Linked DNA regions of Homo sapiens: region 2 is linked to region 1. The links are contacts of gene promoters, found by promoter capture Hi-C in human tissues and cell types (Jung and others, 2019). All regions are on one chromosome and are shown on one strand. Each heading gives the region's core, a stretch centred on a gene start or on the middle of the fragment in contact. The rest is flanking DNA. Distances are from core to core; before and after follow the strand shown. Region 1 holds the start of OVCH1 (ovochymase 1). Region 2 overlaps LOC105369715 (a long non-coding RNA gene).

The links. The method cuts DNA at HindIII sites, captures the fragments that hold promoters and counts their contacts. A contact is called where the count stands out against the background at its distance.
Region 2: a fragment that was not itself captured here is called in contact with the fragment with the promoter of OVCH1 in region 1 in 2 of the 25 tissues and cell types used here (IMR-90 fibroblasts and heart left ventricle).

The regions. Positions count from the first base shown.
Region 1 is chr12:29,495,914-29,499,509 of GRCh38, forward strand. It overlaps OVCH1 (ovochymase 1), which reads right to left and starts at 1,773. Exons shown (of 26, transcript NM_001353179.2): 1 at 1,710-1,773; 2 at 643-761; 3 at 268-365. The coding sequence starts at 1,773. The HindIII fragment of the contact is 2,638 bases long and covers 1-2,432 here.
Region 2 is chr12:29,997,258-30,000,853 of GRCh38, forward strand. The region is part of intron 3 of LOC105369715 (a long non-coding RNA gene); the gene reads right to left. Among named protein-coding and RNA genes, the nearest start is that of TMTC1, 220 kb to the left of the region's middle. The HindIII fragment of the contact is 5,873 bases long and covers 1-3,596 here.

The DNA of each region.
Region 1 (3,596 bases), core at 523-3,022:
TACAGTAAGTAACCACCACCTCTACCCAAGCACTAAATCCATAAATTATAGATGATGTCTGGGATTGTTTAATTCAGTAGAACAGGAAGCACTGGGAATCTTGGGACAGACACACATTTCTGGGAATCAGGAAGATCAGTGGGTGGGTACACTGGGAGGCAAAAGTAAGAAAGGGACTGAGAATGAACCTGCTATTTAGAGCAACAAATCTGCCAGTCGCATAGCCAGGAATCAAGGCCTGACAAGTAATGGAAATCCACAACTTACTCACTGAGGCTGTCCAGGCAGTGTGCTGCTGTAACAACCCGATCTTCTTGAATCAAGCTTCCTCCACAGAAGTGGTGCTCATCTGATTTTAGGGAGACCTACCCAAGAAGAAAGTTACAAATGCAGCTAATATGTCTCCCCACATATGTATCTCCATCGGAAACACTGGAGATCAACTTTTCTAATCTGACATAATATTCTTAAAATACCGACATAAATTGGATAGTAAGATAGTTCCTACGAAGTAAACTTTTTGGTAGAGAGCTAGAGGGGTTCAGGAGAAAAACTACATATCAACGTGCATTCTTGCTTTCGAAACAAAGGAAATATTTCACTGTTTTCTCATTAAGAAATCAATGCCTTTGTTGCACTGACCTGCCATGGATGTCCAGTCACTGTTGAATTTCTCCAACTACTAATTCTAGAGAAGAATCTAGATCCCACGGCAGGTTCCTTACTTTTCATGTTGACCATGCGAATTCCACACTTCAGTCCTGTGTAGAAGAGCATGTGTGTGTGCACACACAGAGCCTTATGTAAGAGTTCACTTTACCAAGATTTCCCATTTGGATTTTCCTGGCCTGGCACAGACATTCTGATAGCACTTAGCTGCAGACTACCACATTCTTCTCTCAATATTTTCTTCAGAATATCCCACAGTCACCTGGGTTGACCGGAATTTGCCTCCTGTCTGCTCCCTTTCAGCCTGTGTTACCACTGGGCAGGAAGGAGCCAGCGCTGCCTCTGGTAGGTGACTTGGGGCTTACTCTGGGAAGATGCAAATTTAGGTTGTGTTAAAGATACCAGGAGCCACATGCAGTGGTTCCCGCCTGTAATCCCAGCACTTTGGGAGGCCCAGGTAGGCTGATCACTTGAACCCAGGAGGTCAGAACCATGGGCAACATGACAAGACCCCATCTCTACAAAAAAATGTAAAAATTAGCCAAGTGTGGTGGTACGTGCCTATGGTCCCAGCTACTCAGGAGGCAGAGGCAGGAGGATCACATTAGCCCTGGAGTTTGAGGGAGCCGTGATCGCATCACTGCAGTCCAGCCTGGGTGACAGAGCCAGACCCTGTCTCAAACAAACAAACAAAACAAAAGATACTGAGGAATGACCTATACTACTCCGGAAGGGAGATATTTGTCTTTAAGTTACTTCTACTTGGTTAGGTTTCCTTGGAGGAGGCTCCTTAGTACACACATGATTAGCAGGTGTGCCTACAAACGAACTCTAAAATGCAAAAAATTTCAAAAAGGCAGTCTGGCCCAGACCTTCCTTTGGGGACATCTGAGCATGCACCACCCCCTCACCCTTTCTTCCCAAATGCCTCAGGTGTGGCTATACCACCCCGACTTCCTGAGGCAAGGAGTAATGAAGTCTTCCCTCTCCAGCACGCTCAGCCTCCTCCGCAGTCCTGGTGCCCAGGTCCCTAGGCTCACCTAGGCTTCTGGGGTGGCCGATGACCAGCAACAGCAACAAACCAGCACTGGCCAGCAGGCCCATAGCCTCCACGCACCGGCCTCGCACGTCCTCCCTCCCTGCAGGCTGAGAAAACTGTGGTGAAGGCGGGGGTCTCGCCCTTTATCCCCTCCTGCGGTGCCTATGGGCAGCACCTGCCGTGGCGCCTTGGTTCGCAGGTGTCCCTCTTCACGATCATTTGATCATTGTGAGCTGCCGCCGCTCTCTGGTCACCCCTGGTGTCACAGTGCCCCGCCACCCAGCCTTAGAGACTGGCACGAGGTGGCCCAAGGGGTGACAGTGGTGCTCACACGTGTGCAGAGGTTCCTGCTAGCAGATCCACAGCAAGCCAATCAGTGGCCTGGAACGCTTAGCCCTGCGAATTCCCAGACTGGGGAGTGCGGTCCAAGCTCAGGGGCAATGAAGCTGGTCCCCCACACGAAACACAGGCAGGACTTCTGAAAGGCGGAGGGTCAGGAAGCTTAGTACAATACTGCCCCTTCTAAGAAGCTTGTTGCCCTTGACCCTCTAGAGTTTTCAAAGAGTGAATAGGAAAGATCAGGCTTGAGCTGACATCATTTTCTGGGTGGCAGTACTGTCCTCCATTTCAGCAGAATGGCCCCAAAACTGTAGGATCCATCATTTAAGATGATTAAAATTAATCTAGTGGTGAGATATCACTTTTTTTCCCATGAATATTATTTTGTAATAAGTTAAGCTGAAGTTAGAAGACAAAGCCAGAATTTGTAATGGTCTTATATTTTGTCAGAAAATTAAGGCAAGGCTAAGTGGACATTCCATATATATCAAATAACCTGGCCACCAGTCCTTCAGCACCAGTTGGAGGATTTTACGTTCAAGTGCTCTATTTTACTTTCATGTAAAATAGAAATAAAAGCTTCTTGAGGTAGGAGGGTACATAAACTAATGGGGGCAGGTGGGAGATGAGCAGGTAGATGGGAAAACAGAAGGCAGTCAAGGTGGAGAGAATGCAGGCACAGGTACAAGCAGGTGACAATCTACTGGGGACAATGACCTCTGTGACTGCAGGAGAGAGCAGAGGGTAAATGGACACCATTTGAAGAAAAGACTAAAAAAAGTGAATGATGCCTGTCGCTGTGGCATCTTCAAAAGGTGTCCATTTACCCTCTGTGGCTAGTGGCTACCATATTGAACAGCACAAATACAGAACATTCTGTCATCACCAATAGTTTTATGGGACTGTGCTGTTCTTGAGAGTAGCACTATTTTCTTTTGAGTATTTATTTCAAGGAAAGACACCTCGGATGACAGTTTGAGTAGATGACTCCTTAGTTTCATGCCTGGGTGTCTAGGGGATAGGGGGTGTCCAGCATGCTCTTAAGGTAAGCAGCTCTTCTGTGAAAATAAAACATTGAACCTCCAGGCTTCAGTACTGTCCAGGGAATGTCCAGATGTGTGGCTACCTGAACAGTGGCCCTCACCACTTTCCTCCCTGTAGTCATCACACAGGGGTGACCATTTGAACCACCATGCCAGCTCCAGGGCCACACCGTTCTCCAATAAAAGCTCAGAGCCCCCACATGGACCCAAAGCCCTCTTTCTTTTTAGCAAGAGGTAAGATGAAACCCACCAAAAAGCCTTTACTAAACAAAAGGGTAAGGACTAGAAGGTGAACATGTGCTGTGCAAGAACGGTCAGGCCAGCAATATTCAAGTTGCTGGTCAAACCATGGCCAGCCCTTCCGTGAGGCTCACAGGTGCTGTCCCCTTTCACTCTTCTGCCCATGGCACACAGCTTTGCAGCATACTCTGTGGTTTCTTTGTTTCAAACCTGGGAATCTCCATGCGGTGGGGCACTGTCTCATTTCCTGTTACAGAACAACTCCC
Region 2 (3,596 bases), core at 381-2,880, 500 kb after region 1:
ACTGTGGACTAGGAATGCAGTGAGCTGAGATACATACATGAAAAGGGCACAGAGATGATTACTTTTCAAAGGTACATAAAACACTTAAGTTGAATAATACACGAATATTTCAGTATCACTAAATTCCTCACTGCGTTAAAATCTGTCATCCATTCAGCAATAGATGGTTTTGAACTTATCATTCTCATATTTCCAAATTGGCAAATATAAAAAGGGTTCTGCATGTTTACTTCCTTGATTTTCTTTATTTTAATTTTTTAATATTAGACTTAAAAATGTTGTGGGTACATAGTAGGTGTATACATTTATGAAGTACATGAGATGTTTGATACAGGCATGCAATGTAAAATAAGCACATCATGGAGAATGGGGGTATTTGTCCCAGCAAGCATTTATCCTTCGAGTTACAAACAATCTAATTACCTTATTTTATTTTAAAATACACAAATAAGTTATTATTGACTATAGTCATGCTATTGTGCTATCATATAGTGCCCAGTTCTGCATCTTTGTTTAGACAAAACTTTGCTAGTCACAGCACAGATTGTGCTGATAGTGGACTATTGATAAGCTTTACTTGGAGAATCGAATATTGCCACCTTTCGTTATCACTTCCGACATGCCAAGCACTGTGCCAATCACTCATATAAATGCAAGTAGGATTGTCCTTGGACTCACAGGTAAGGAAAGGAAGGCTTTTCTCTAAGAGGTTGGATGATTTATTCAAGGCCACAATCCAGCAAGTGAGAGGCCAGGATATGAAACTCAATCTGATGAATGTTACAGCCCCTGCCCTTAATTACCAGGAAGAGCATAATGTTCTCTAATGAGGTGCAGGAGGTGCAGCCACCCAAATGCTGCCAGAGGTTGCTGCTGGCAGGAGGGGGATGTGAAGCTTTCCTCGAGTAGAGGAACTCCCCTTCTCCAGACCTTTCTCAAGTCTCACAGAAGCATGTGTTTCATTTTGTCCTGTTTCCTGTGGAATTTTCCATCAGCAAGGACACAGAAATAGGAGGTTAGAACTTTCTCTGTCTGCACCTCCATGCTGAGGCCATCATTCTTGAAGGCAACACAAGGGAGGTCTTTTGGTCATTTGCAGCTGCTTCAGCTTGAAGGGCCCTGTTTGCCTTTTCCTGGGTATCAAGCCTTGGGATTTGCACTTCCAAAAATGCCCCTCCTGCCATCTCTCATGGTCTTCAATCTCTAGTTTCACCTCTTTGAGGCTGTCCCCTTTGCTCCCATAGGTTCCCATCCTTACCCCAGTTAGAGTCCCTACACACCATATCCAAATCACTGGTTCACTGATTTCCCTCAGCGGAATGGAAGTTCCTTGGGGTCATGATCTCTGTCTTCTTCACTGTCCTATCTCTGACACCTAGCACAGCGCCTGGCACTTCGTGTGAGTTCAGCAAATAATATTTCCTTTATGAATGAATGATTATTTCGTATTAACTGTTATCAGCTATTGAGGATCTGAGGAAGGAAGGATCAGAACTGGTAGGTGTTATTTTATGGAATAGGGAGAGGATGGTCATCAGGGAAGATTCAGGACACAAACTGCTATTAACACTAAAATCAAGGAGGAGCATTGCATCAGGTTTGGGGAGTCATAGGGCTAGGTTAGTGCAGAAAATGAGGTATTCTCCATAGTCATAGGATACATGGTGCCTGTTGTGATGGGGAGGAGGCAGCATGAGAAGGAATGGAATAACAGAAATCAAGAAGAAAATACTAGAAACAAATTTTAAACATAAAGTATATATATTCTCTCTGTCTCCCTATATAGGTATATATATAATATATATGAAAATAATCATATGTATACGATTATTGGCTCATGTGATTAGGAGGCCAAGAAGTCCCATGATCTGCCATCTACAAATGGAGAAAGCTGGTGGTATAATTCAGTCCAGGTCTGAAGGGAGAACTGGGGTTGGTGGTGGAGGTGGGATGTGCTTGTGTAAATCTTGGAGTCCAAAGGTCCAAGAACCAGGAGCTCCAACGACCAAGGGCAGGAGAAGATGATGTCCCAGCTCAAGAAGAAAGAGAAAATTTGCCCTTCCTCTGCCTTTTTCTTATATTCAGGCCCTTGAATGACTGGATAATGCCCATGTACATTGTAGAGGGCCATCTGCTTTACTCAGTCCACAAGTTCAAATGCTAATATCTTCTGGAAACACCACAGATACACCCAGAAAAAATGTTTTGCCAGCTATCTGGACATCCCTTAGCTTAGTCAAGTTGACATGTAAAATTAACTACCAAATTAGTTAATTTAATGAGACCATGTTTCTTAGACCTTTTACAATAAGGTAAGAACGATGGCAGTTTATATGTGTCATGCCCTGCCCTATTCTAAGTACTTTTATACATTCTGTTATCTTTATAACTCTGTGAACTATGTACTATCATTTCCAAATTGCAGATTAAAAATGGAGCACAGAGAGGCTGAATTATTTGATTGAAGTCACACGCTGGTAAGTGGTAGAACTGCAATTCCAACCCAGGGAGTTTGATTCTAAGTCTGTTCCCTGGCGCAGACTGAGATAGTCACAGTGGGAAATATAAAAGTAGATAATTTTGAGAACTACATGGGAGGAAAGAGTTTGGAATTGCTGTTGGTTGGATTTGAGGGGGCAAAGTGAAAAGGGCAGGCAAGAGGGAAGGATAGTTAATAAGAAAGAGGAAAAAATGAAAATGTTTTATTTTTGTTTACCTGGTATTTTGAAGATTGGAGAAAAAACATTTTCAAATTCTGTCATCTTATTTTACTCCAAACAAACGTAAGGGAATATAAACTATGACTGTAACTGGCTGGATACAGCAGTCATCACTGATGCTAGGAGATAACAAAACTAGCTTCTTGCTAATAAAAAATAAAGCTCCTTTCAGCTATGATTATAAATATATACTTTTACTTACATTGGGCATAGGTTAGGTTGGAAAATGTCCTCCTTTCCCAAGCAAAATAAGTAATGAAGTTTAACATCTTTTACCTTTAAATAACATATGGATTAAACCTTGGCTCCTCTTTTTACTAGCTTTGTTAATTTGAACAAGTTAGTTGCCTTATTCTTCATGGGATTTCATAGGTTAAATTTACAATATGTAGAAATCATCAAGTACAATGCTCACACACAGTAATTGCCCCCATAAATGGTATCTATAATTAGCAATAGCCAGCTTGATGAAAGCCAAGTACTCTGTTCTTGTGGTCCTTGTAGTTCTTGCCAGTGGAAGCGCATCACTCACAAAGTTGAAGGGGGGCCTTGTGGCTGTCTCTCCTGAAAATGCATCAGACAGTGGGATTTTTTTGTGTGTGTTCAAAGAAGCTCATTTGAAAAGGCTGAAACTTTACCCAAACTTGGATTTTCTCCAACACAAAGGCTTATGCTAAGGTATTCAGTAAGATTGCATCTAGTATTGCCAAACAAAACCACTTCACATAATTAGAGAGGCCTTGGTGGAGCCTTATGTCCCAGGAATGGTTGAGTGGGTTTATAGTTTGAAACAGAAGAGAAACTGAAGTAGGGCTTCACCCAAAATATCATCTTCACCCAAACGGTTGACACTTCTGCTACTTTTTTGAAGTGGCT